Regions from separate parts of the Homo sapiens genome. Here region 2 is linked to region 1. The links are contacts of gene promoters, found by promoter capture Hi-C in blood cells and fetal thymus (Javierre and others, 2016). All regions are on one chromosome and are shown on one strand. Each heading gives the region's core, a stretch centred on a gene start or on the middle of the fragment in contact. The rest is flanking DNA. Distances are from core to core; before and after follow the strand shown. Region 1 holds the start of SYNC (syncoilin, intermediate filament protein). Region 2 holds the start of ZBTB8A (zinc finger and BTB domain containing 8A).

What was found. The method cuts DNA at HindIII sites, captures the fragments that hold promoters and counts their contacts. A CHiCAGO score of 5 or more calls a contact.
Region 2: a fragment that was not itself captured here is called in contact with the fragment with the promoter of SYNC in region 1 in 1 of 17 cell types (M1 macrophages); the score reaches 5.1 in M1 macrophages.

Annotation. Positions count from the first base shown.
Region 1 is chr1:32,701,485-32,705,355 of GRCh38, reverse strand. It overlaps SYNC (syncoilin, intermediate filament protein), which reads left to right and starts at 2,586. Exons shown (of 5, transcript NM_030786.3): 1 at 2,586-2,748. The coding sequence starts at 2,696. RefSeq lists silencers at 2,037-2,126, 2,177-2,226 and enhancers at 1,587-2,352, 2,353-3,118. The HindIII fragment of the contact is 11,042 bases long and covers 1-3,871 here.
Region 2 is chr1:32,538,452-32,542,258 of GRCh38, reverse strand. It overlaps ZBTB8A (zinc finger and BTB domain containing 8A), which reads right to left and starts at 2,832. Exons shown (of 5, transcript NM_001040441.3): 1 at 2,687-2,832. LOC124903952 (a long non-coding RNA gene) reads left to right here. Exons shown (of 2, transcript XR_007065669.1): 2 at 430-683. RefSeq lists a silencer at 2,100-2,469. The HindIII fragment of the contact is 462 bases long and covers 1,093-1,554 here.

The sequences.
Region 1 (3,871 bases), core at 1,337-3,836:
AGACCATCCTGGCTAACACGGTGAAACCCCGTCTCTACTAAAAATACAAAAAAATTAGCTGGGCATGATTGCAGGCACCTGTAGTCCCAGCTACTCCGGAGGCTGAGGCAGGAGAATGGCCTGAACCCAGGAGGCGGAGCTTGCAGTGAGCTGAGATTGCACCACTGCACTCCAGCTTGGGCAACAGAGTGAGACTCCGTCTCAAAAAAAAAAGAAAGAAAATGAATAGTATTGTTGCAGATTGATAAGTGCTGCACAGAAAATAAACAGGGTGACAGGGATAAACAGTAAATGGGGTGAGGCATGGTGGCTCCTGCTTGTAATCCCAGCACTTTGGGAGGCTGAGTCTGGAGGATCCCTTGAGGCCAGGAGTTTGAGATCAGCCTTAACAACATAGTGAGACCCCATCTCTATTAAATAAAATTTTACAAAACCCAACAAAACAAAAAAGCCCATAACAAAAAAATAAATGGGTGGACATTATGGGCAGGGGGTGGGGAGGCATCAGAGAAGGCCTCTGTGAGATGTGATCTGAGACCTGAAGGAGAGTAAAAGGTGGGCTGTGAAGAGCTGGAAAGGGTTTTCTAGGCAGAGGGAGCAGCAGAAAAGGCCTGGCTGGGTGTGGTGGCTCACTCCTGTAATCCCAGCACTTTGGGAGGCTGAGGTAGGAGGACTGCTTGAGCCTAGGAGTTTGAGACCAGCCTAGGCAACACAGTGAGACCTCGTCTTTACAAAAAATACAAAAATTATCCAGGTGTGGTGGTGTGCATCTGTAGTTCCAGCTACTCGGGAGGCTGAGATGGGAGGATCACCTGAGCCCAGGAGGTTGAGGCTGCCGTGAACCATGATTGCACCACCGTACTCCTGCCTGGATGACAGAGTGAGACCCTGACTGCAAGAAACAACAGCAACAAAAAAAACAACAACAAAGGCTTGGAGGTGGGGAAGTTTCTGGGACCCTGGGGAATTCAGGGTTTCAGCCTAAAGAAGCGCTGAGCAGGAGGGTAGGAGCGGGTCAGAAATTCAGTCCTAGGGACAGCCTAAGGCCAGGTCCTGGGCTGGGGGTTGGAGGGGCAGAGCCAGCTCTTCTGAATGCCACCCTTGCCGCCTGTTGCTTGGTACCACAGCAAACAGAGCCTCTGGCAGGCCTGCCCTTGCTGCCTTAGCTCTCCTCTGGCGGGCAGCAGATGTCAAATGCCCAGCAGCTGAGGCTTCGCCAGCCTCCTCCCCTGGAATAGTTCGGGGGTAAGTCAGAAAATGACCAGCAGCCTCAAAACCTGGCTTTTTCTCGTGCGTACCTTACAAGGGTATATTTGGCTGCCCTGGGTGTTAAATCTTCCACCCCCTTGCATTAGACAGAGAAATATAAATATACAGCCACAGGCAGCACACTCAGACGCGAGGATGAATGAACATTTATCAACCCCCAGTCACGCACAAGCACACAGTCAGAGTCACAAGCGGGACCATATGCATGCCCCCCACACAGAGTCAAAACCGCCAGCCCCACAAAGACACTCCACCATGGCACAATCACCACACACATTCACCCTGAGATCACACAATCACACATCCACATGCTCACACACAGACATGTACCCCACAATCACCGCAGAGTCACACAGGGGCACACAAGCCCACACACATTCAACACCACGGCATGCTTCCCCCACCGGCCTCCCAGGCACCCCAGCCCCTGGGGCTTGTTATGGTGCCAGCATTCTTCTGCGATTGAGTCAAAGACCTCCCCAGACAGGGTAGCTAAGTGGAAAAAGGAATCCGAAGGAAGAACGCCTGAAGCCCAGGTCTGGGAAGGGGCCCAGCAGCTTCTCTCTTGGGGAGAAAGACGTCAGTGCTGGTTTGACCCTCACACTAGTGGGCTGAGGACGTGGGGGGAGGTATGTCTTGAAGTTGACAGAAGTGGGCTGAGTGGGGTGACAGGTGGAGCAGGAGAGAGACCCCAGGAAGCCTCAAAGGGTGGGGCAGAAAGTGGGGTTAAATATGGACTCAATGTGATAGGCGTAAACTCCTCCGCAGTTCTCTCTAACCCCAGCCACCCAGCCCGCCCCCAGGCTCCAGGCTGTCCCCAAACGCGCGGGGTGTGGCCGTGAACCCTCCTCCCCGGCCGCGCCCTGCCCCGCCCTTCACGACAGCTGCCGGGGACAGCCCGGAGTGCCCAGAGGGTGGCTGCGGCCCTTCCCCTCTTGGGTGGGGACCAGAGGGCGCTGAGCGGCAGCGGACACCCCCAAACACTCGCGGGAGAGGGGTGCTGGCTCCCTTTGAGCAGCCCGCCCAACCCTGCCTCCACCCTCCCAGGCTGGACAGGGAAGGTGCTCCCTGGGGCTTCAGACCCCCCTTCTGACTCCCCCTGCAACGGGACCTCACGAAAGGAAGGGTGGAGAGAAGGTTCGGGAAGACGAGGGGGCTGGGAGGTTTGGAAAGACAGCTCCAGGCCCCCGTTCCCACCCCCGCCCCAGGCTGGTCCGGGAGGGGCAGCCTCTCCCCGCCCCCAGGTCCGCGCGGCCGCTCCCTCCTCCCCCGGCAGGAGCCCCGGCCAAGTGGGCGCGCCCGGCCCGGGGCCGGCCGGGATCCGGTGTCGGTTGCAGCTGGCAGTGCGGCGGGCGCGGGCGCCGGAGCGAGGGGCCCGCGGGCCCGGCTATTAATAACGCGGCCGCCAGCCCGGGGTCGCGCAGCCATGGCCAGCCCGGAGCCCCGGCGCGGCGGGGACGGCGCCGCCCAGGCCGCGAGGTAGGACAGTGCCGGGCCCGCGTCGCCGCCCCGCTGGGGAAGGGGTGCTGCTGGACGGGTTCCCTTTCCCCCCGACCGCGGGCGTCTTTCGCCTGTCTAGGGGTAGTGGTCCAGCCGGGGTGGGGCACTGGAGCCGCCTCGTGAGGGGACATCGGGGAGTCGGGCCGTCCCGGGGTCCTGGCACCTCCGTTTGTCTGTGGCTTTTTATAATACCCCTCCCCCTCCCGGGACTACATGAAAATTAACCCTTCCAGGCGAGTGGGCATCCACCGCTCAAGTGCCATTTGGCCCATAGCAGCCAAAGACACTTCTCGCTAGCCTTCATTCCTCCCTGCAAATGTCAGTTGGAGACAGAGGCCTCCCCTGCTGAAGTGGCTGTGTGGAAGCCACTTGGTGCAAGGCTGGGCATCTGCCAGCTTGAAGTTAAGAGTCTGTCAGGGCTTGTTCTCTCCCGTCTGGCCTGGGATGGGTGGGGGAAGGGTCCAGGGGCCCTCCCCACTATCCCTCCTGGCAGGGCACGGCTGATTATTGGGGGAAGGGACCTGTGGCTGAGGGGTTTGGGGTGAGGTGTATTTCTGTCCCAGGTCATACTGTGGCTCTGGGACTTCCCAGTGTACCAAGAGGTGAGGGTGCAAATACATAGCTCCCGACACCCCTTCACTGTCACACAGGGGCACAAAGCTGAGCGGTCTTACACACACACACTCACCCATACTGCTGTCCACACCTACAGCTACAGTCAGACACACGGACTCTTGCCTGCACAATGTCACATGGACTCCCAGCCACATCCCTGAACAGGGTTGGAGAGCTCTGCGGTTCTCTGGGGACAGGGACAGAGTGGCAGAGGCAGGCTGCCCAGGGCCCAAGGAAGCCCGAGGTCAGGGGCCCCAACTAAGCTGGCTTCCTCTCCTCTGAGCCTCCTGTCATCTGCTTCTTTCCCTCCTCTCTCTGTTTAAAAGAGGCGGCTGTGTGAGGGCAGCACCCAGCAGAGGCCTGGCACCATGGGTGGGGTGGTGGAGGCAGCACGATGTGTGCTAACAGCACAGCTTGGAGGTCAGGAGGCCTGGGTTTTACTTCCAGCTTTGCCATTCGACCTTGGGCAGATTTCCTCCTTGGAGTT
Region 2 (3,807 bases), core at 74-2,573, 160 kb after region 1:
TTTTAAGATATATAGTCATTAATCTAAAATTTAATGTGTCCCACCAGGGTCAGCAAAACTAATCTTGTTAGCCTGCTTAGCAAACGTTCCTGAGTCATAAAGAACTTCAGCTAACTAGAGTGGTAACTGTATTCCTTGATGGATAAATGATCCTTCAGCTTTGGAAGATTTAGAATTAAGTACAGATGCTCTTCAACTGACGATGGGGTTACATTCCAATAAACCTATTTTAAGTTGAAAACATTGTAAGTTTAAAATGCATTTAATACCCCATTAAACGCACTGTAAAGTCAAAAAATCGTAAGTCAAGCCATTGTAAGTCAGTGATCGTCTGTATTAAAAACATTTAAGAGCTATGGTTTGAACATTTGTGTCCCCTCCAAAATTCATGTTGAAACTTCATCCCGATTGCAACGGTATCATCTTTAGGAGGTGATTGGGCCACGAAGACTCTGCCCTCATGGATGGAATTAGTGCCCTTATAAAAGCACCTGAGGGAGTGAGTTTAGCCTCTTCTGCCCTTCCATTCCTTCTGCCACGTGAGGACACAGCAGTCCTCCCATCCAGAGGATGCAGCAACACGGTGCCATCTTGGAAGCAAAGAGCAGCCCTCACTAGACACCAAACTGCCTAAACTTCTCAGCCTCCAGAAGTGTGAGAAATAAATTTGTTCTTTATAATTACCCAGTCCCAAAGTATTTTTATAGCTGCACAAATGGCCTGAGACAGAAAAGATTTAGAATTAATAAAAACACTTAAGAGAATCAAAACTATAGTTGAGGAAAGCCTCATTGAGAAGATGGCATTTGGGTAAAGTCCAAAGGAAGTAAGAGAGTCATGTGGGTGTCTGGGGGAAGAGCATTTCAGGCAAAGGGAACGGCAAGTGCAAAGGCCCTGAGGTGAGCAGGCAAGGAGGCATGGGGGAAGCAATGGGATATGGAGTCAGAAAGGGAAAGCAGATCATGAGAGAAGTAGGACATGGTGAGACCAGGTGCTTGTAAGGCTGCATAGACTATTATGGAGCTTTTGGCTTTTAAACTGCGTAAGATGGGGAGCCACTGACCAATTTTGAGCAGAAAAGTGGCAAAAGCTTCATTCAAGGGAATCAAACACATCAAATCTTTAAATATGATTAACATATCATTGTGTCACTGAGTTAAGTCTATTACACAGTTTTATCTAAAAATTAGATTTAAATGACATACGATGAATTAAATTACTCTATCTTACAAAGTTTTTGATGGCCCCAAATCATTATCAACAGCGAAGCTGGTGATTTCAGGGCTAGGAGATAAGGGTTAGTGGTGTGGCCTCCTTCCTGGAGTCCCTACTCATTATGCCTCCTGCTGACATTTTAGAGCACAATCCACCCAGACACCCATTTGATCAAGGGCCCTAAGCCAGATTCTCACTTCCCAGTTGCCACTTGTGTGGCCAGAGAGGTTCCCAGGAATAAAGACATCTGATCCCTGCTTATCAGTGAGGGGCTCTTGCTCCAGTCTACAAACGCATCCATACCTGAGGCATGGAGGAGATAAGACTGGAGCAGAAGCTTGTTGAGGATTTTGGAGGCTTTCCTGAAAAAGATCAGTTAAGGTTTTTAGAGCAGGGAAGCGCTGTGTTAAGACTGGCCCTTCTAAAGACTCCTCTGGAGGTGCCTTAGGAGGGAAGGCAGGGCGGGAACAGGAGGCCCTGGGCGGCTATGGTCACCCTAGCCTAGAGGTGAAACGCCATGCTTCATACGTGTTCCCTCATCTGCAAAGTGGAATTACCGTCAGCCTGACTAGGTGGTTGTTTTATGTGAAATTAAGTGAAATAATTCATATAGGTGAAAGCACTCCATTTAAAGTTGTGCAACTATAAAGGTTTATCAAGCATAGAGGTGATATTGACGTGTGTGGTTAGAAGCCCACCAGGTGTGTGTGAATCTACCGCTTCCAAACGCGTCTTAGAATGATGTGGAGTAGGGCCATTGGAACAATCGGGGATACATAAGCGCATCTGAAGGGGAAGGGAACAAGCCGCTGACTAACTCACAAAAGAGGCGGTCCGCATGGGTAGAGATGAGCATGTAAGGTTCCGTCCAGAAGCAAATAGTTGGGAGCTCAACATTGGTTAGGCGCGGTGAGTTCGCCCTCGGTTCTAAGCCCAGATGTCGCATCTTGACATAAAACCAAGGATGGAGGCTGCACCGAGAAACTCGGGCTACTGCCCTGGGAGCCAGGTTCCCCGGCAGCGCCCCTGGCCGCGCCCGCAGAGACTCCGGCCCCGGCCCTGCCCTGCCCTCCCCGCGCGCCCCCGCGGCGGCCGCCCGTCTTTGCTCCGCGCAGCCCGAGCCCCTCCAGAGTCCGCGGCGCCCGACGGCTCCAGACACGCCCGGCGCCGTCCCCGCCGCCTTCCCGCCGCCGCCTCCAGGAGGCTCCGCGCGCCTTCCCGCCTTTCCCCGGGCCGGGCCGGGCGGCGAGGCGGGCGCGGGCGGCGACGGCGCGGCCATTGTCCCGCAGCCCCTCCCGGGCGCCTCCCGCCGCGCTCCCGGCCCGGGGACGTCTGGGGGAGGCGCGCCCGGGGCCCGCATCCCAGCACTGCCGCCGCCCGGGCCGTCAGAGCCCGCGGCCAGGCTCGCGGCGGGTCCCGGGCAGCCCCGACGCCCGCCCGCCCTCCGCCGGCGCCGCGTGCAGCCACTTACCGCGGGCCGCGGCGCACCGGCCGGTCGCGCGCGCGGGCCGAGGGAAGATTCCTGGTTCTCGGCTGGGGAAGGACCCCCTTTCGAGGCCGTTCCTTTGCGCCCTAAAACAAGTAGCCCCAACGTGAGAGAAACAAAAGGTATTTGCTGACGTGGGCGTTGGACAGAAACGCCCGAGGGCTGGGGACACAATTAAAGGGGCAACGCACAGATTTCAGGCACCAACCAGCAGCTTCGCCCACTCCCCCTGCCCTTGCCCACACTCGCTGCACGCTCCAGAGACACCGGGGTGCCCAGATTCTCTAGCAGTTGACTGCGGATCATGATTTTAGTCAGGAGCTGAAATTTAAAATTGTACTTTACGTTGGGAAAGGCGCCTCCGGAGGGCAGAAGGGCTGGATTTCTAGGATCTGGGGATTTGGTTTAGGAAAGAGGGAGGGACTTAGGCGTGCCCACAATTACTGTATAAGTACATGTGACATTATTGTACTTAAGTTTAGCAACGTCAAATGCAAAAGATTTCCACAGAATTTTCCCTTGTACTGAAGCAGTTATTTTAGTTGAGGATAACCTTTTCTAAACCTGTACAGGTCAGAAGCATTTCATTTGAATAGGAAAACCCAGAGAGGCTGAGATAAGAGAACATAATTCTTAGTTAAGTCCAGAGAAATATAAAATTAGTAAAAATAGCAAGTTGCGTCTTTTCCAATGCAAGCATTCATCGTACACCAAGCTTCCTCTGACAAATTTACGTCTCTAATATTTAGAGTACAGATATCAGGTTATACATTTGCTAAAATAGTAAATCAATGGATTTTCACTGTTACTGTAGAAGCATTACTTCTATAAATTAGTTTTCTAGTTCCTTATGCTGGGGTCAGGTACTGAAAAGTACTGTGTTATAGTAAAACTGGAGGGAAAAGGTTCAAATTATCAAAACTTGCGTTTAGCTTTTAATGGATTCCTCTCCTGTTCAAAATCATTCATATTGGACAGTTTGTAACTTTGATTTCAGGAATAATTAGCTATGCATTTTGAGGATACAAGATATTCACAATTGTCTCAATGTCACTTCTGTGTCACTGCAGAGGTGCTTTGCTATTTAGTTGCATTTCCTCACCTTC